Regions from separate parts of the Homo sapiens genome. Here all the other regions are linked to region 1. Evidence: promoter capture Hi-C in 16 types of primary human blood cells and fetal thymus (Javierre and others, 2016). All regions are on one chromosome and are shown on one strand. Each heading gives the region's core, a stretch centred on a gene start or on the middle of the fragment in contact. The rest is flanking DNA. Distances are from core to core; before and after follow the strand shown.

Region 1 (2,700 bases), core at 162-2,661:
TCGGTGTTAATAACACCAATGGCTTTTTTGCTAAAACCAATGGAAATGTTTGCATCTGACACTGGGACACACTTCCTCTTAGAAATGTCCCATTCCCTGGGCTTCTCTGATACCAAGCTCTTGGGATTCTTCTTTCATTTCTAGTGGTTCCTTCTCAGATTGGCTCAGTCCCCAGCCTCTCCTCTTCTGACTCATTCATTTAACCTACCAAGAAGGCAACCTCCCCAGTCCCAGGGCTGTTGGGCATCCCTACCCTTTGGGCATGCAGCACATCCATTTTTCTGACACTGGAGGGCAAGTGTGCCTTTTCTTTCTGCCTCCCGCTAGACAGTAAGCTCTTTTAGAATGGCAACTATTAATATGTTTCATCTCTGTACCTGCCCTCCCACTCATAGCATCTGCAGAGCTTGGTATATGGGGTAGACACGAAGACTTCCCGTTGAAGAAGTAAATGACTGAGACCTGAGTGACCACAGTACTTCTATCAATTTTATATTAATGACCACAGAGTCAGCTCAGTGATTGATTAGTATCAGGCTTTGGAGTCAGACATCGGGGGTGCCCAATACCAAGCAGTCCGGTAACCAGAAGCATGACCTTGCACAAGTAAATCTCCAAGAGCCTCAGTTTCCTCATTGTCAAATGGAGATAATTATGGTACCTGCTTCTTAAGATTATGATAATTAAACGTGAAAAATACATGTAAAGTCTTCAGAGACAAACCTAGCACATAGCAGGTAGCAGTACTTAATGTTAGCAATAAATAATAGCAAATAAAGTCAATATTTAATATTATTGTTACGTTAGCATCAGGTACATGCCTTCGACAATGTATTGATCAGAGTAAGAGCACTACTAGGTTTCCATGCTGATCACCAGGAAGACAACCAAAAACTGCTGTCTTCCTACCACCGCTTGGAAACATGCGTCCATTTGCTCATTAAACGTTTTACTTCCTTCCTGTGCCAGAGCTCTGCCTTAGGCTCTGTCCTGAAATTTATTTGGCACCTGCAAAGGCCCAGTGATAACTCTTGGCAACCGAATCAAAATGCCACAACTTCACAATTCCACTGGCTCACTCCAAACGTGAAATAGAAATTGAGCACCTGGAACCTATCTAGAGCCTGCTTTTGGGCCCTGGTGTTTGATAACTGCGCCCCACCCACTGACTCTCAACCTCTGCAGCGCCCCGGGCTCTAGCCCTAAGCGCCCCTCGGCCAGCCGCTGGCACATCTCTTACACCAGGGGAGGCGCGCGCGCGCGCACACATACACACACACACACGCACACACACACACACACACACCAGCCTTCCTTGCCCACCTGCTGCCCAGAGGCCGACGACGCATGCACCAGCAAGGACAAGCCCAGTCTTTTCAAGCGACACCTGTCGCCTGGCCTTTTCCGTGCCGGAGGGCGCGAGTCTCACGCTGTCTTTTAAATGCGTCACCCAAATCCCCACCCCTATCTGTACCAGGCGTTCCGCACTCCTCCCAGTGGTTTGCATGTGCACTGGTGCTTTCCTTTTAGGACTTAGGGGAACTCCAGCGGTAATAACCACACACACTTCCTCTTAATCAGTGGCCTGGCAAACCCACTCGGGGATTTCCATGACCCAAAAGCATGACTCTTAACCGTGGCATATCTTCGCGGCATTTACTGAAAGACATTTGCTTCATTGCTCGTGGGTCAGAGGAAATCTTGATAACAACCCATATAGAGAGGACGATCATTGCTTAGCCTGCCTGGAAAAGGTCAATATGCCCTGTTCTCCACCCTCCATCCGCCATACACTTTACACGTAAAAAGGTTAGGTTTTTCAATCTTCTACTATAGCTGCAGAAGTCCAGCATTTAAAAAAAAAAAAATCGAAACTTTGTGAAATATTTCTATTTATTTTTACTTTTTGTTCTGATCAAGAAAGTAAGAGGTGAAAGGAAATGTAGGGGTATGTGAAAAAAATCATGCAGTTCTCCTTTGCAGTTTATTTTACCATTTTAAAGATTGAAATGGCTTGGTAAATTTTCTGTATGGAAATACTTTTGTTTGGTTTGGTGAGTTGTTTTTTTTTTTTTTTTAATAAGTAGGGTGGAGTTGGCTACTTAAAAAAATCCCTCCTTTATAGCCTTTGATCTCACAGGGCAGGTTTCTGAGTTGCAGTGCCATTCTCAGGGAAACCTGACATCTTTGAGTCTAATTGCACTGCCATATTTCCCTCAACGTTCTCTAAGCAGTAAATTTAAGCAACTTTATCTGAGAGCCATCCGTACCAGGGTAACAGATGGATTTGGAGAGCTCATCTGATTTTCTATCTTCCAGTAGATCAAAGACAATTACCAACCAGAGACAGAGCCCATAAAGATTATTGGAGACTTCATCGTTCTGTGGAAACAGCATCCAGTGCATTCTGCACGCAATTGGACTGAGCTGAGGCATCCTCTTGTTTAGGTGGACTTGGCTGTCCATAGCAGCTGAAGTTCCAGTTGGAATTATTTCAGAAAGACTAAGTGTATTTATCATATGGAGATTTTAATCCACATTTGAGTCTGCTTCAATCAAGACTTTCTAAGCCATTTTCAACTCACTCCTGAGATTATTGAAAATAATTTGCAGGCCTTACACATTTTTGATTATGTACTCACCAGAAGAATTTTGAAAAGCTCTGCATTCCCTTGCCCATTTTTAACTTAACATTAAAAC
Region 2 (2,700 bases), core at 108-2,607, 360 kb before region 1:
CCACGCCTAAAGCACCAGTGGTGGTTTGGAGAATATTAAAATCCAGCTTATTGTCTTACACAAGCCAAAGAAGAGGAACACTGAGTAAATTTAAAATTTAACAAAGATGTAACAGCCAGTCACTCCAAAGAATATAAGACACTGGAAGCAGGTCTTAATGGGAGCAGACGTTAATACAATCACAGAGCTGCAGCTTCCTCAGGATATCATATATACACAGTCAGTTTGATTAGCCTGAATGCCCAAGACAGTTTCTTTTCAGTGTCCTATGGTGGCTGCAGCCAAGTGCTGACTGGCACACAGCTGGCTGGGCCAGTTCTGAAGCTTGCCTGGAAGGACTGCCTTCTGCTCCCCCAGGCTGGGCCTTTCTCCTACTGGCTAACCCCGTCCCCAACATTTAGGTAGAGCCCTTGATTGCAGGTATTGACCCAGGGCTGGGTTGGACTTGAATTTGGACTGCTGGGCCCTCCTTTTCTTATTCCATATTTCAGTACTTCACAGCTTTCTCATCACACTGGTAGTAACTTCCTCTTAGCTCTTTCTTGCATTCCCCTGAGGCAATTGAAAGGAGCACTGACTGATGATATAGTTTGGATATTTACCCACGTCCAAATCTCATGTTGAATTGTAATCCACGGTGCTTGAGGTGGGGCCTGGTGGGAGGTGTTTGGATCATGGGGGCGGATCCTTATACTTTGGTGCTGTCTTCGTGATACTGAGTTAGTGCAAGATCTGGTTGTTTAAAAGTGTGTGGCACCTCACCCCGCCACCCTCCTCCTACTCTCTCTCTTGCTCCTTCTCTGGCCATGTGACGTCCCTGCTCCCCCTTTGCCTTCTGCCATGCTTGTAAGCTTCCTGAGGCCTCCGTGGAAACTGAGCAGATGCCAGCACTATGCTTCTTGTAAAGCCTGCAGAACCGTGAGCCAATTAAACCTCTTTTCTTTATAAAAAGTACCCTGTCTCATATATCTTTATAGCAATGCAAGAACAGCCTAATATAACTGATGTTGATGTTGCACACTGGCTTGATTCCTCCCAGATTTCTTCTACTGCTGAAACTCTGAAACCTACCCCTCTTTGGAGGAAGATGTGATAACTGCACTATTCTAGTGGAACTCCAGTGAATCTACAAAGAAAAATCATTCATATCTTTTACTGTCTCTGTGGAAGGGACCATCTTTTCTCCTGGAAAACATAAAATGCATTTAACAATTTCTTCCTTAGAGCAGTAATTCTCTATTCTGGATGCAAAGTTAGAATCACACGGGAGGTTTTTTAAATGACCAATAACTGGGCTCCTCCACCCTAGACCAATGAAACCTGAATCTCAGAAGGGTGGGGCCTGAGATTCTGCATTTCTAACAAGTTCCCAGGGGGTGTTGCTTCACAGACTTTCTTTAAGTAGCATAAACTTTCTAAAATGCTGGTTCACATATGTTAGCATGCATCAAAATTACCTGGAGGTCTTGGGCCCCACCCCTAGATTTCCTGATTCAGTCGGTCTTCAGCAGACCTGAGAATGTGCATTTCTAACAAGCTCCCAGGTTATATTGATGTTGCCCATTTTGAAAACCACTATAGTTCACACTACCCCTGCCCCATCCCTACCCTAGCATTTTCGTCCTTCTAACACCACTGTGGCTACAACAGTGAAGACCTGAGAGCATAGAGAGCAAGACCAAGGAAGACAGGTGGAGAGCCCCTAATCCTTTTAGTGTTCTTGGGTCTGATTCCCTAAATTTAACTTCAGGATTTGGTGAAGGCCACCAGCTGTCACCCATGCAGTCTCCTCTGTCCAAAAGTCCCCATTGAGTGCCACGTGTTTATCAAACAGAAGCCAACCTCACATTTACTCAAGCTTCCTCAGAAGCAGTCACTCAGTTCCTAAAGAAAACAGTCACCTCCCTTGGCTGGGCCAAGGGTTTGGGACACTGGAATGAGAGGTTATAGCCAGTTGTGAAACATCTTTCCCAGAAAAGGCCAACACCCACCTGGCATCTGAGGCTTTAGGAATCTGTTTGAAGCATATGGACTTTCATTAAATCAATTTGGCAAACTACTTGGAAAGAGAATTTGCTTACAAGAATCATCTAAGGACAGAAAAAACATTTTTCTTTTCTTTTTTTTTTTTTGAGACCGAGTCTTACTCTGTCACCCAGGCTGGAGTCCAGTGGCACGATCTCAGCTCACTGCAACCTCCACCTCCCGGGTTCAAGCAATTCTCCTGCCTCAACCTCCTGAGTAGCTGGGATTACAGGCACGTTGCCACCATGCCCTGCTAACTTTTGTATTTTTAGTAGAGACAGGGTTTCACCATGTAGGTCAGGCTGGTCTCGAATCATGATGCCTGACATGACTATGTAGCTGGTCAGGGGAATGGGAAGCACCTGTTTGTAAGATAATTCCTTATTTATTCTTCTGGCCCAGGAAAGCTGCCATTAATTACTTCTCTGTTTTCATCCTTGGGCTCTGCATGAAAGGAAGAGAGGAAAAAGTAAATATAATTCCACTGTTTATGAAAAGCCCAGAGAAGTAAGAGTAACAAGCCAACTGCCAATTCTACCTGGGCTTAGCTTGGAGTGGGCGGTTACAAAAGAGGGTGATTCTATCAAGGAAGGTTTAAAAGAAAAAAAAAAAGACATTTCTAGAGCTTGATAGCAACAAGTCAGTTTCCATAAATCTCCACAGGGTTATTAGATG
Region 3 (2,893 bases), core at 36-2,535, 290 kb before region 1:
TTCATATGTTTTCCACATGAAAGTATGTCAAAATTACAGAGAGATTTTTGACACTTCCTTAAACTGTATTGTGCTATAGAAACAGAAAGCACACACTTGTTCAATTCACTATCACTGTCTCAGCTGAATCAAATTTGAAAGGTCATTCTGCTAACAGGTTCACATTCCAATCAGTGGGGTAGGTTTTGCTATCGAATGCCGCCCCCCCGCCGCCCCGCCCCGCCCCAGTCGTTCTCCTTTTGTAATCTGTGGCACATGCAAAGTCCACAGTATCCTATGTGTCAGTTAACAGATGTCATGATAGCAACAATAACCCAAAACAGGTGTTTTTTTATTGCTAATGCTTACTATCTTTGCAGTATGAATTAGCCTTTTTTATTTTTCAATGGGCTGTTACTCATTGACAAATGAACTTCCCATTATAACAAATAAATACTGAAAAGTGAATTTAAGTGTCAATGCTACTCAAAATGTCCCTTTTCTGTAATATGATGCGCCCCTCAGAATTTCTAGAAGGACTCAATCTTGTTGGCCTTTCTCCCCACTTGTTTAGATCACGGGGATTCCTATCCATTCGATGGGCCTCGGGGGACTCTAGCCCATGCATTTGCTCCTGGAGAAGGCCTGGGAGGAGATACACATTTCGACAATGCTGAGAAGTGGACTATGGGAACGAATGGTATATATGCACAATTCACCATAACCTGGAAAATATTGTACCTTCTTCTGGGCTCCATCATGAAACCTTGAGGTTCAACGTCCCAAGCCACCCTTTAACTAGGGGGGCTGGCTAGGAAAAACAAGTAAGCCAAAAATCCAAAAGGGATCACATAAGGGAAAAAAATCCACCCCAAATTGTGTTGTAGACTTGTCTGATCTGTTTCATAGCATATCATCTGAAGAACCAGTCATCCCCTTCTCAACGCACTGCTCTCGTTTCCTTCAACAACCTAGTATTTATGATTTCTTACTTATTCTTGGAAATGGGCTACATTCAGAAATGACCCAAGAGAATCAGTACTGTCCTGAGAAGTGTGTTGGGGATGGGAATAAAGTTTCCAGAATATCATACAGGTCATCTGGAAATCTTCAGTGTGAAACGTGTGGATCAAAAGGTGTAGGCTGTAATAGCAGGGAACTATTAAGGCATTTGTGGTCTAAATTTATGAATTATTGCCAAATAGCATTGCCACTATTTGTTCCAAGGCTCTGCTTTATCAGTCTACCAAACATCACTGATGATGAATAAAATGGATTGATGTGCATTTCTGTCCTCCCCCACCCCCAACCCCCTTCTAGCCAAGGGGGGAAGAATTAAAGTCACCAAAGCTAAGTGCCAGAATAACCTACCAACCTTTGAATAATCCAGTTAGGAGAAGGAGATGGGTTAACTGTAATGTGGGCATAAATTATACTATAAAGATGGAAGATGGAGAAAACAAAAACCTGTGTTGATACTGTTTTTTTCTCTCTCATATTGTCTAGGTTTTAATTTGTTTACCGTTGCTGCTCATGAATTTGGCCATGCCCTGGGCCTGGCCCATTCCACAGACCCATCAGCACTGATGTACCCAACTTATAAGTACAAGAATCCCTATGGATTCCACCTCCCCAAAGATGATGTGAAAGGGATCCAGGCATTATACGGTAAGATTATTACCTTCTTTGATGACTCACCCTGAAATTGGCAGGCATTCAGTCTCCGAATTAAAGAAAGTGCATTTTATCTGCATTGGTAAAGATCAATCTAGAAACCATAACCCCAACTATGCCTTCTTGTGAAGAGCTGATTTGCTAGTTATAAATATGTGTGTGATGTGTGATTAAATTTTGCATCTTTCCTTTACAGCATATTAGTCCTGGATAGCCTTAGAAAATATAGTCATTTGTCGGTTTATGTTTTTCCTTTGAGTGCAGGTTAGAATTTACACATTGGGAGAGGATGGATATAGTTTATAGTTCATATATGTGGTGCTTACCCATTTGCAGATAAGTGACCTTATCTCCCTAAAAATAGCAATCATGATTAAAATAACTCTGCACCCAGTCATGTAGCCAATCTGCAGTTTACAAAACAGGTTCATGTGTGTAGTCTTACACCAGCCTCACAACCAACCTGTGGGGTGTGAAGTGTTTTCCTCATTTGATAGCTGAGAAAGCTGAGGTTTGAAGACAGTAAGTATCCTAAGATATCCTAAGATAAGTTACCTCAAGTATTAATATTCTTCCAAAAGGTAATAAGGGATTATTAGAAACTCTGTATCCAATTTTCCTTAAGGGAAAAACAAACCAATTAATCCATCAGAAGGAATCTTGAAACATCCTTAGACCTTGACAATTTTTCTTTAATGGATAAAAGGCAAAAAGATCTAGGAAATTGCTTTTCCTTTGAGCCCTGGAGACCTGGTTATTAGGCTTCTGATTATCAGAGCTTCTCCCCATCTTCTCAGTGCCTAGAGACCCAGATCCCCCAACAGCTTCCTGGGGTGCTAGGAATCTGGCCCCAGGGGATCTGGAGGGTGGGAAGCCCAGAAATGGGCACACCATTCAAAATCAGTCAGATTTCACCTGAGGCACAAAAGACAAATTTCATCCCAAGAAGCTTTCAGCCAGCTCTATCCATTTCCAGGAGGGGGAAAGCACCAGATCTGCCTGACCCTTGAGGGACAGGAAAAATGCCATGAATGTCTCCATGTCACAAACTCAGCTCCAGAGCCTTGGTGGCAGTGTTCCAATGGGAAGCGATTCCTGTGGGCCACCGAGAAGGGCTGAGCTCAAACACTTGCCTTTGGAGGTCCTTGTGCCCTGGAAAGTCACTGCCTTCGGATGGCCACTGTCACTCAGCCAGGAGGCAAAGCACATATTTTGGCACAGCTATTATGACACAGGTGAA
Region 4 (2,760 bases), core at 140-2,639, 270 kb before region 1:
TACAGGAAGATAGGTATTGAGAAATCCAATTCCCCTGGTGAATTTTCAGAGAATAAAATCAAGAGATGCATGTGTAAGCACGTCTGTTGGAGTATGAGGGCGTTTATGTTAGGATTATTCAGTTAATGTTTTAAAGGGTATTCACAGTGTGATTCTCAATGGGGGAATTATCCACTCTCCCATTGTCTCTCTTGCCCATTTATCACCTGATCTTTGGTCTAATCTACCACCCACCAGCACCTGCAGTAAAGCATATACCTTCAGCCAGGCTGGATTGAAACTTAACAGCTAAGTTAAGAGATGTGGGCAGAGGTTCAAAATTCTCTGTAAGTTTTAGGATGGGGAGGTCAAGGCTCTCTGATTTTAGTGATGCTCTTTGCCCCCAGAGAAAATCGTACTGTACCTTTCCAACTGGGCCTCTGTGAGTGTCTACTAAGGAGAAGTCTTTTGTAATCTAGATAAATAGATTCACCGAAAAGTTGGTCTAGGGCATTAACTAAAATGTTAACAAGCTCATTTTTCTGGTTAAGGAAGGAAACCATCGTAGGCACTTCTAACCTTCTCAGGTTACAGAGGGTATTAAGTGATGTAATGCATGCAGACACAGATACCTAGCAAGGTCTGCATAGAGCAGGTGCTCAAAAAGAGTTATTCTTCAGCAACAGAACTTATATGGTAACTAACAAATAATTTCTTAACAAGTTGTGATGCATAACAAATTGCTTAAACCTCAATATTTCTCTGAGCGGCGATTCAGTCAAAAATCTGGTCAAAGGGAATTTCCTTTTTAAATACTGAAGGCCCCTAACATTGGACTGAAATTGCTGCTTTTGGCAAAACATAGACAATCCCTTCAGCAATGGCAGTCTTCTACTTTACGCACTCCAACACATACACTGGTGTATGCAACAAGGAGTAAGACAACCCTCACCTATAGCTCAAAAGTTTAGAGAAACCTATTGTACTGGCCCTATTCATAAACACCCCTGAATTCTGCACAGTGTGCTTTACAGGGCCTCATATGTGTGACATCTTATTGTCATATGAAGCCTTCTATTGGTTTGAAATTTAATTTAGCCACTAGTATCAGAGACCCCAAAATAATTGTGGCTTAAACACATGAGGGTTTGTTTTTCTCATATGTGTAAAAAGTCTGACAGTTTAGAGCCAGTATGGCAGGCTGGTGATCAACAGGGACCCAAGTTCCCTTAAACATTTTGCTCTGCTATTCTTAACACATACTTGCATTCTCGTGGTTGCCTCATGACTCGAGGTGGCCAGGGGAGCTTTAGTCATTATGTCCCTACTGTAGAAGGATGGAACTGAGAAGAAAGGACAAAGGAGATAAATGAAGTTTTGTAGGTAAGCACATGGCCATACTCAAAAATATGGAAGGTCCCAAGCCTCAAGTTATGGAATAAGAATTTCACTACATTGACATCCACTGAAAGTGTGTTAGGTTTTATTTGTCTTAGACATTTCTCAAGTTCTTCCTTGCTCCTCATGCTAGTTCAGTCTGTGACGTAAGTAATGTGCCAAGGGAAGAAAAGTCTCTGGAAATTCTGCAAGAACTCCCAGAGTTTGGACCCAGTTTTAGTGAATGAAATGCCATGAGGAAATGACCGAGGAACTTCCTCCACAGAGGATTGAAGGTTGGCTTGGGGCCAGGTTGGATTAGGCTCTAAAAGGGAGGACCCATGTCTCTGTGTGGTAGTTACTTATAGGGGAGCAGCGCACAGAGGACCACAATGTCAAATCCAAATAGGAGGCTCTACTATGTTGATGCCGTTACATGCTACATCAGCAAATGACATATTGGTTAAACTTTGCCAACTAGAACCACTTCCCCTTACTTTTATTCCTTCCTATTCTCTTTCTAGCAGGCCCTAATGGTTCCATCAGTTTTTCATTTTTTACATTATTTCCACTACCTATGGCTGATTTCTCCTTTTACATATTCTTCCTTGCCTACCAGTAGCAGAGCAGTGGCTACATCAAGGGATTTCTGGCAGCAGGGGGTGTCACCACCTCCATAATTCTTCAAGATAGTCAATGATTTCTGAATTTTATGCAAAGTGACTTGCAAATCTGCAGATCCTACCCCTTTTCAATCATATTGCCCCTCTACCCTGAATCACTCTTTCTGTACAGTCAGACTCGGGGCATCATTGCTGCAAAGTAGAATACGTCTTCCACATTCTCTTCTTCCTGAATGCCTCAGAAATACTAGAAATAGATGTTTTTATTTGAGGATTTTATAGTCACCATAAATAAATAAATAATAAGTAATAAAAATAAGATGAAATAGGGTTCAAAAATCTTGTTTTTTCATGTTTTAAATTTTAAAAAACTTATGACTAAACTACCACATTCAACCTACATTTATTAGACATATTATGTGTCAGCCTGTGTACTAGTGACATTCAAGAGAAGGTGTAGAGTTTGCTGGTTAAGAATGGGCAGAAGTAAAAAGTCCTAGTGTTAATCTTAACTCTACCAACAATTATCTGACAATTTGGATCACCTTTCTGTCTGTTTCATCATCTGCAAAATGGGGGTAGAAATAGTATACACTTCCTAGAATTATGGCATTGAAAGGGAAAAATGTGAAATGCCTGTCACATAATAAGCATTCAGCTCATGTTGGGTGTTATTAATGCCCTCAACAGATCTTACAGTTGAGGGTAAATATATAGATAAATAACTAACAGAAATCCAAGTGCCAAAAGTGCTCTGATACAAGACTTCATGAAGATCAGT
Region 5 (2,879 bases), core at 372-2,871, 260 kb before region 1:
GGTTTCTGTTACTGAAAGTGGCCACTTATAGTCCACCAGATGTTGAATATTTGTTGAAGACAAGGTCTGGCATCCTTGCCTTCTAATGTCAAGGTGCTTCTATAGAGGAGAAAAGTCACTTTTGCAAAAACTGCTAAGAAGGACTTCTTACTATCAATAAGCAAGGAGAAAAACAGGCTGGCAATTTCTTAAAATATTTAACGTAGACTTACCCTATGACACAGCAATTTCACTCCTAAGTATATACCTATGAGAAATTAAAACATGTCTACACAAAAAACTTGCACATAAATGTTCATAGCATCGTTATTTATAATAGCCAAAGAGTGGAAAAATGTCCATTGAGTAATGAATGAATACGTAAAATGTGGCAAATTCAGACAACAGAATGTTATTCGACAATAAGCAGAAATGAAGTCCTAACACATGCTGTAACATGGATGAAGCTTGAAAACATCATGCTAAATGAAAGAAGCCAGACAGAAAAGGTCACATATTGTATGATTCTATTTATATGAAATGTTCACAATAAAAAAATCTATGGAGACATAAAGCGGACCAGTGCTTGTCAGTAGTTGGGGGAGGGGGTTATAAGGAGTGACTACTAATGGGTATGGGGTTCTTTTTTTTGGGATAATGAAAATGTTCTAAAACTGATGATGGTGATGGTTGCACAACTCTGTGAATATATTAAAAGCCATTAAATTGTACACTTTACATGAGTGAATTATATGTTATGTTAACTATATCTTGATAAAGCTGTTACATTAAAAAAAAGAAGGAGATCAAAGTAGTGTGATGATCCATGGAGGTCATGCATTCTGGCAACTGTGTCAGGGACCACATGACAATGAAGCACCAGCCTGAGGACATCCAGTGCTGCACGCAACCAGCCAGATGTCCTCCTCATGTCCAGCACTAGCCCAGAATCGTGCATACAGAAGACACTTCACTAGTCAATGAATTCACTGAAAGCAATAAAGCATATGCTCTCAGGTCTGACTGATGGATTCAAACTCCAGATCTTCTATTTTCAACTGTGTGATGTTGACCAAATTCCCTCATCCTCATTCTCTGTCTCAGTGTCTTCCTTTATAAAATTGGAATAATGGCAGTTTTTATCTCCTAAGGATATTTAGAGCCTTAAATATATGAGTCAAAATATGCAAAGTAGTCCCTGGCACTCTACAGGGGCTCTATAATTGTTGTTTTTGAAGCCATTAGAGTTCATTTTGTTTGGTGATATTTTGGAGAATTTGTATATGTCCCTTGAGATAGCTAAACATCTGATGAGCTATAATATCACAAGAATTGATAATCAATGACCTGAAATTTTTCTCTTCCAAATGTCAAATTAAATCAAATAATTAAAAATACTATGTTTATCCCCCATCTCCAAAAAATAATTCTTATAAATCATTATTTTTTGTTGAGTTAAAGAATTCTTGGCTTTTAGGCCAGGCATAGGGGCTTACACCTGTAGTCCTAACACTTTGGGAGGCCAAGGTGGATGGATCACTTGAGCTCAGGAGTTTGAGACCAGCCTGGGAAAGATGGTGAGACCCTGTCTCTACTAAAAATACAAAAAATTAGCTAGGCATGGTGGCGCATGCCTGTGGTCCCAGCTACTTGGAAGGCTGAGGTGGGAGGACCACTTGAGCCCAGGGGTCAGAGGTTGCAGTGAGCTGAGATTGTGCCACTGCACCAGCCTGGGTGACAGAGCAAGACCCTGTCTTAAGAAGAAAGCTCTTTGCTCTCAGATATAAAATTAGTATGTATTTTGGAAAAATACAGTCTCTCTAAAGCACAAGAAGGTGTGATTGTGTCATAACACAGAGCACTTATCCTCATATGATACAAGAACGTTGTGCAGAAATAATTTATAACATAAACTACTCATTTGACTTCAGAGTAACTGAGTGCAAACATGACTTATTAAATAACAGTTTTGGACAAAGTGTGGTTGAAGTACTCCCTTGAGGATCACGAGGTAGCAAAACAGAGTTCACTTCCTGATGAATTCTATGCATTATCCTATTAATCTCAGTGATGACTCTTTGTGGGCTGAACCTTTGAAAGCACTACACAGGCTACTAAGGATGAATGGATTCACCTCCTTGGGGAGCTTTCCTAACAGCTCCATATTAAATTTTCTCTGGTATAAACCAAGCCCTCTTCCATTTAGCCTAGTCCTAAATGAAAGACCTAAGTTTGCCTTTGGGTCTTCTGTTTCTTTTCAAATGTTTATTGCAAAACACCTTAGATGTCCATTTCACAAAGCAAATGGCAAAAAAACTATGCAGTTTTTCATTCAGAATTCTGTGTATAATATTTTTAAATGCTCACAGGGTCTTCAGGGTGCTTTTATTTATATATTATCCAGATGTTTTTCTTTATTCCTGTTAGTTATTTTTCTTCTACAGACAATGATATTGAAGGTTCTTTGTGAATATTCATAGCTAAAATTACCCAATGAAGTGCCATTTGAGAGGAAATGCATACTGCTGGCCAATAGGTTGGTGTTTTAGACTACCATAATGGAGCTTAGAAGAGTCCAAGCCAAAAGATCGTCGGCATTTCTCCCCAGTAGGTCTGGGTAAAAAGTAGAAACAGCATCTTCTGATCATCTGTCATCTGCCAAGTCTCCTGTCTTTGGTCTCATTCCAATCCCTACGTGGCTTGTCAACATGATCAGTTTAAAAGGTATCCTGTTATACTCAAAATGTCATAATTTCAGGTTTGCTCCCAACACCTAGACCCTTGGAATTGAACTAGAAGCAGAATTGGGAAGCTTGCTGGTAAATAAATTACAATGGGAAATTAGTGAATGGCTTTGGGATCCAAAATAGGACTCTTTTTTTTTTTAATGCAACATCTCT
Region 6 (2,891 bases), core at 103-2,602, 340 kb before region 1:
CAGCCTGGGGGACAGAGCAAGACTCCGTCTCAAAAAAAAAAAAATAAACAAATAATAAAGTATGGCCTTAGAGAGATTACTAAAGTACATTTTTATGTAACTTTTTTCTAATTACAAAACACAAAAAAAGTACAGAGAGAAAAGAACAATACCTATGCATAATCCCTGCACTCCTACCGCAAGATAACTGCTTCTAATATTTATGTGCCTGTCTTATAAATTTTTATTTTAAAGAAAAAAACAGCTATAAGATAGTGTGATAGGTTCTACTTGCAGAAAAAAATATATGAAAGAAAAAAAGAATGGAGAATTACAATCTTAACAGAAGAAGTGCCTGAAATCTACTTTGACTAGAAAACCTAGAGGTGAGAGAGACAGAAAATTAAACATAATAACCATGTTTTCATTTTAAAACACACCTTTCAAGTAAGGATCCAAATGCTTCAGATATACTAGGCAAAGATGGGGTCCAAGAAATTTAAGAAAGGTTGTCTGCACATGTATTCACCTTGATTCTTTGTTAATGTAAGGTTTGGTATCTATATACCCTTTAGTTATACTCACTCAGCAGCTGTCAGCAGAATCATTACACAGGTTAAGAAACAGCAGTGTTGGGAATTTATTTTCCAATGACATATATATACAGGTCTTTCCAAGAGGTAGAAAGCTTAGGTCTCATAAGACAAATAATTGTGCTTATAAGGCATTAGATTTCGTGGTTGGCCAGCTGAATAGGTCCATTTCAAGGTCCTAAAAGAAGTAGATGTTGCACACACACACACACACAAACACACACACACGCACACACACACACGAAGATGGGTGAAACTCCTGCTGAACAACAATATTCCACCAGGCAACTGGCTAAAGGAGTGGAATTTACTTCAATGGTTGGAAACCTAAGGGCATCTACAGTGTTTGAAAGAAACTGAGAACTTGCTTTAGAAGTCCAAGTTTTAGTCCAAGTTCTGTCCTTTACCATCTGGTTGTCTTCGCAAGCCATTTCACTTCTCTGAGCCTGTTTTCCCATCAATAGAATGGGTATAACAACGTCCACCTTGAATGATTGGGGGGTTACATAATTTAGACGGCCTGGCATGTAATAAATACTGCATAAATGTAGCCCAGAGAATTGCTACACTGATAAAATAAAACAATACATGTGAAAGCACTTTGTAATCTGTATAGTTATCTGGGAGTGGGAGAAAGCCAAACCTCACCAGAATACTATTGTTTAGAACTAAGGATTACATTTAATAAGGGCCTCATACATCAAGGAAGGCAAACAGATTGAGACAACTCCATTTGATGAGGAGCTGCTGTCTCGAATGCCACATTGTAAAAAATATCCTGCAGCCATGGGTTCAGAAGGGACAAAGAAATACAGCATTAATGCCAGTTATTGTAGCATAATCGAAATGAGTTAGAGCTTGAGCCCAGCGGGAACTTACAGAAAGACGTTCTGCCTACACCCCGGCTCCCTGATCTGCAGCTGCACCACTGAATGTTGCAGAAAAAGGTTTCATGAACAGAAAATGGCAATCATAAGACTTGTAGGGTGTATACGCTCTTTTCAAGTATATCTAAGTGCATGATCTCAAGTTACTGGATATCAGCAAAAGAGAACAGAGAATATTTCCAGCCACAATCCAAGGACAATATGGAGTATCAGTTTCCACTAAATATGAGATTAATGATAGCCCTACTTGATAGGGTTTCTATGAGGAATAAATTAGATGAAATACATAAAATACCTAGAACAGATCTAGCATGGGGCAAGCGTTCAATAATATATAACTATTATTATAAGGATAAAGATGTATTATCTTTTGTTTCAATAATTCACAATATAATTTGGGATTAGGTTGCAAAATTGATGAGTAATGTGATACTCAAGTCAGGTAAAATTATTTATTAATAATCTCTAAATTATCAAGACCTGCAGACTTGGAAGCTCCAAAGCAAATAATACATGACTTTAATCACTCTTTGTCTTTCAATTGATACCTCCCTTTACCTAGGGCAAGGGAAGCTTCTGTTTTAATGGAAAGGAAAAGAGGGAGGACGGAAGGAATTGAAGCTGGAATAGGCTTGTACAATGGGACAAATAAATATAGTTTTCACTCTTTATGACCAATACATACAGTTGGCTTCATTTTACAGTTGGCTTCAAGTTAACAGTGCATGTGATGCAAATCAATTTACAATTTTCCTTAATAATTAAATCAAATAGTAATAAAATACTTAAAGCTGTCTTTTACTATGCCTCAGTCTGACAACGAGAGATAACTACTGCAAACATAATGAATTATGTCTTCTGGTATTCAACTTCATTTCTCTAAATAATGTGCTTGTGCATTTATTTCCTAATTAATGTATCTTATACATTATCTAGTGACTTCTGTTAATATTAGCTCTATTACATTCCCACCAACCCTCCACCTCCTTTCTTCCCTACACTTCCTCTTATATCACAGTGTTTATATTTTTATTATGTAAATATTGTTTATTTCCAAGTCAAATAGTTTATTATTATTACATTCCCATTCACATACAGTTTTCTGGTATTTCTTTTTCTTTTCTTTTTTTTTTTTTTTTTGAGATGGAGTTTCGCTCTTGTTGCCCAGGCTGGAGTGCAATGGCGTGATCTCAGCTCACCACAACCTCCGCCTCCCGGATTCAAGTGATTCTCCTGCCTCAGCCTCACAAGTAGCAGAATACCAGCTACTTACAGGCATAGTTAGTGATTGCTTTATTTATCATTGCTACTGATTACAAGCATAGTTAGTGATTGCTTTATTTATCACTGCTTGGTTTTCTGTGCCCATTCCAAGTTTTTTTCAAATGCTGCAGCTGTTTTGATGTGTACCTATCAATAATTATTTAACTCA
Region 7 (2,700 bases), core at 178-2,677, 390 kb before region 1:
GCATGAAAATGAGTGTCTTATCTTCTCAGAACACCTGCTAGTTGTGCTGGCTATGATAGACTCTTGGCTCAAACCTCATCTATACATCTTTGAGATGAGGACTGATCTCATACTATTTTTTAACCACATTTGACAGAGTCATAGACAGTAAACTGTAATATGAAGTGTAATAAAGAATTCAGAGTTATTCCTTTTAAAAAAATTATCTTGTTGACAACATGTAGTATTTTCCAGCTATTACATTGATATTTTGAATGGGCACAAGAGATATAAAGACCTAAGCTTAGAATGCATTTATTTATTTTTTGTTTATTTATTTATTTTTGAGACAGGGTCTTGCTCTGTCACCCAGGCTGGTGTACAGTGGTGCAATCACAACTCACTGCAGCCTCAAACCCCTGGCCTCAAGCAATGCCCCACCTTAGCCTTTCAAGTATTTGGGACTACAGGCACACACCACCACACTCAGTTATTTTCTTTTGTAAAGGTGGGGTCCCACTACATTTCCCAGGCTTGTCTCAAACTCCTGGGCTCAAGTGATCCTCCTGCCTCGGCCTCCCAAAGCGCTGGGATTACAGGCTTGAGCCACCATGCCACCCTGCCTAAGCTAGAATTTAAACAATGAGATTCATGTTTATCTTAGGTTGAGATTCTTCAAAAGCAAAGCCTAAGTCAAGACATTGGTGCAATTATATTTTCAGGACACAGTCCCAGGAAGCAAGAGTGAGGTAGCAAGAAGAGTGAGTCAAAGAATGAGGAAAAGCCAATACAATTATGTGTTATCAAGGTTTCTGCTATGGGCAATTGAAGCTCAATTCCACCAGGGGCCTCTGAGAAGCCTGCAGACCAGCTTCCAGTCGTTCACATCTCCAGTGAGCAGGAGGCTGGAACATTCATCCTTCAGTTTCCATTCCCCATTGGATGAGGATGTTCCCTGAGAGTGTTAACTTCTTTACACTTCCAGGCTGTACTGTCATGCTGACCTGGAAGGCTTGATGGCATCTCAATGCTCTGGGAAGAAAGCAAAAAGACACACAGTCTGTGCTTAAAGTTGTATTAGGTTGGTGCAAAAGTAACCACAATTACTTTTGCACTTTGTCAGAGCAAAGTGAGTTACACAAACCAGTCCACCCCTTGTGCAACTAAATTAATGCTGTGGGTATGTGGCAGAGGACATCAGAAGAATCTCCTACAGCTTTGTTCCTTGGAGATTTAAATGATGGGAAATTGGATGAGCTTTCTCTGGAGTAACTTACCAGCCTCAGAAAAAAAAGAAATTACAGATACCAACACTGGAGAAATCTCAGTGTGGCAGGGCTGCTAATGACCTATCTTAACCTTCAGTCTACACTTCTTCTGCAGTGAGACTCCAATTTCATTTGAGGTAGCAATGCGTCATATTTTGTAGCCTTGCTTACAGCTAGGCTTACAGCTGGATATGGCCATGTGTTTATTTCTAGCCAAAATGTGTAAGCAGAATGTTGTGTGGGGCTTCTGGAAAGGGACTGGAAAATTACTTTTTCTCTGCCTTCCTCCTTCTTTCTGCCTGTAATGCAGATGTAATGGCTAGAGGTTGAGAAGGCAGCTGACTCATGAGGCATTGTACTGACAGAGTGGTGTAGCAAGGTAGATGTTGCCTACCCTTGATGATATGGAGCTGTCAAACAAACCCTAGGCTTCCAAATCTGGGCACTTTTTTTTAATGTGAGGCAAAAATACATTTTTATTTAACTAAGCATCTGTTATTTTGGGTTTTTGTGTTACATTCAACCAAATCTCATCCTGACTAATACATCACATGAAGGGTGTGGGAAGTGCCCCACCTCCCTGCAGTGAAGGTCATCAATTCACCATCCCTGCCTCTACACATGAGAGCTTCCAGTCTGCTTTCTTGCCTCTCATTCTTAAGCAGATTGCACAACACAAAGTCACCAAATATTTTTGAAAAGATTGCAGTGTGAAAAACAGAGACCAAAGGAGAGACTTTGAGGAACTAGAGACAATTGTAGGAGCAAAAGAAAATGTCGAAATAAACTAAAGTATACTTAACATTAACATTCTTTAAAAATAAGAAGAGACTGGGTACAGTGGTTTGTGCCTGTAATCCCAACACTTTTGGAAGGCTGAGGCAGAAGGACTGCTTGAGGCTCAGCATTCAAGACCAGCCTGGGCAACATAGTGAGACCTTGTCCCTACAAAAAAATAAAAATAAAAATATTAGCTGGGCATGGTGGCATGCAACTATAGTCCCAGCTACTCGGGAGGCTGTGGCAGGAGGATCACTCGAACCCAGGAGTTTGAGGCTGCAGTGAGTCATGACTGTGTCACCGCATTCGAGCTTGGGTGACAGAGTATGCCTTCTTTTGTTTATTTAAACAAACAAATAAATAAATATAAGAATTAAATATAAGAATATAATTTTGGATGTAAAATATGTCTTATTTATTTAATAATTTCTTATTTATTTAGTTATGAATTATGTATTATTAATTATTTAGTAATTTATTTAAATAAATAAATAAGACATATTTTATGTCCAAAAACACTAATGAAATGCAAAAAAAAAGCTTAAAAATGTAAAAGAATACTCAGAACTGGAAAGAGTTCTTGGAAATTAAATGTCTTAGCTGAAATTAACAATCGGTGGGCTGGAAAGTTAAGTTGGTAGAAAATAGGATATATTAGAAGCATAAAGACTCA

The links. Contacts are between HindIII fragments. The CHiCAGO score rates a contact against its expected background, and 5 or more counts as called.
Region 2: a contact is called between a fragment that was not itself captured here and the fragment with the promoter of BIRC3 in region 1, in 2 of 17 cell types (monocytes and M2 macrophages). The highest score is 6.2, in monocytes.
Region 3: a fragment that was not itself captured here is called in contact with the fragment with the promoter of BIRC3 in region 1 in 5 of 17 cell types (M0 macrophages, total CD8 T cells, M1 macrophages and 2 more); the score reaches 10.0 in M0 macrophages.
Region 4: a fragment that was not itself captured here is called in contact with the fragment with the promoter of BIRC3 in region 1 in 1 of 17 cell types (M0 macrophages); the score reaches 5.8 in M0 macrophages.
Region 5: a fragment that was not itself captured here is called in contact with the fragment with the promoter of BIRC3 in region 1 in 1 of 17 cell types (total CD4 T cells); the score reaches 5.9 in total CD4 T cells.
Region 6: a fragment that was not itself captured here is called in contact with the fragment with the promoter of BIRC3 in region 1 in 2 of 17 cell types (M1 macrophages and M0 macrophages); the score reaches 7.5 in M1 macrophages.
Region 7: a fragment that was not itself captured here is called in contact with the fragment with the promoter of BIRC3 in region 1 in 3 of 17 cell types (M0 macrophages, M1 macrophages and monocytes); the score reaches 7.2 in M0 macrophages.

The regions. Positions count from the first base shown.
Region 1 is chr11:102,316,195-102,318,894 of GRCh38, reverse strand. BIRC3 (baculoviral IAP repeat containing 3) reads right to left here and starts at 1,411. Exons shown (of 9, transcript NM_001165.5): 1 at 1,324-1,411. It overlaps LOC124902739 (a long non-coding RNA gene), which reads left to right and starts at 1,652. Exons shown (of 2, transcript XR_007062864.1): 1 at 1,652-1,809; 2 at 2,323-2,700. RefSeq lists enhancers at 110-159, 420-619, 1,421-1,780, 1,791-1,860, 765-1,964. The HindIII fragment of the contact is 7,438 bases long and covers 1-2,700 here.
Region 2 is chr11:102,677,472-102,680,171 of GRCh38, reverse strand. It overlaps MMP20-AS1 (MMP20 antisense RNA 1), which reads right to left. Exons shown (of 5, transcript NR_183620.1): 2 at 2,388-2,469. Among named protein-coding and RNA genes, the nearest start is that of MMP27, 27 kb to the left of the region's middle. RefSeq lists an enhancer at 736-905. The HindIII fragment of the contact is 1,007 bases long and covers 854-1,860 here.
Region 3 is chr11:102,607,691-102,610,583 of GRCh38, reverse strand. MMP20 (matrix metallopeptidase 20) reads left to right here. Exons shown (of 10, transcript NM_004771.4): 4 at 554-679; 5 at 1,486-1,647. Among named protein-coding and RNA genes, the nearest start is that of MMP20, 16 kb to the left of the region's middle. The HindIII fragment of the contact is 2,639 bases long and covers 1-2,604 here.
Region 4 is chr11:102,589,378-102,592,137 of GRCh38, reverse strand. The region is part of intron 8 of MMP20 (matrix metallopeptidase 20); the gene reads left to right. Among named protein-coding and RNA genes, the nearest start is that of MMP20, 35 kb to the left of the region's middle. The HindIII fragment of the contact is 5,969 bases long and covers 1-2,760 here.
Region 5 is chr11:102,573,210-102,576,088 of GRCh38, reverse strand. No RefSeq gene overlaps it. Among named protein-coding and RNA genes, the nearest start is that of MMP7, 44 kb to the right of the region's middle. The HindIII fragment of the contact is 2,345 bases long and covers 449-2,793 here.
Region 6 is chr11:102,657,713-102,660,603 of GRCh38, reverse strand. The region is part of intron 1 of MMP20-AS1 (MMP20 antisense RNA 1); the gene reads right to left. Among named protein-coding and RNA genes, the nearest start is that of MMP20-AS1, 18 kb to the right of the region's middle. The HindIII fragment of the contact is 1,365 bases long and covers 670-2,034 here.
Region 7 is chr11:102,708,587-102,711,286 of GRCh38, reverse strand. No RefSeq gene overlaps it. Among named protein-coding and RNA genes, the nearest start is that of MMP27, 4.2 kb to the right of the region's middle. The HindIII fragment of the contact is 2,285 bases long and covers 285-2,569 here.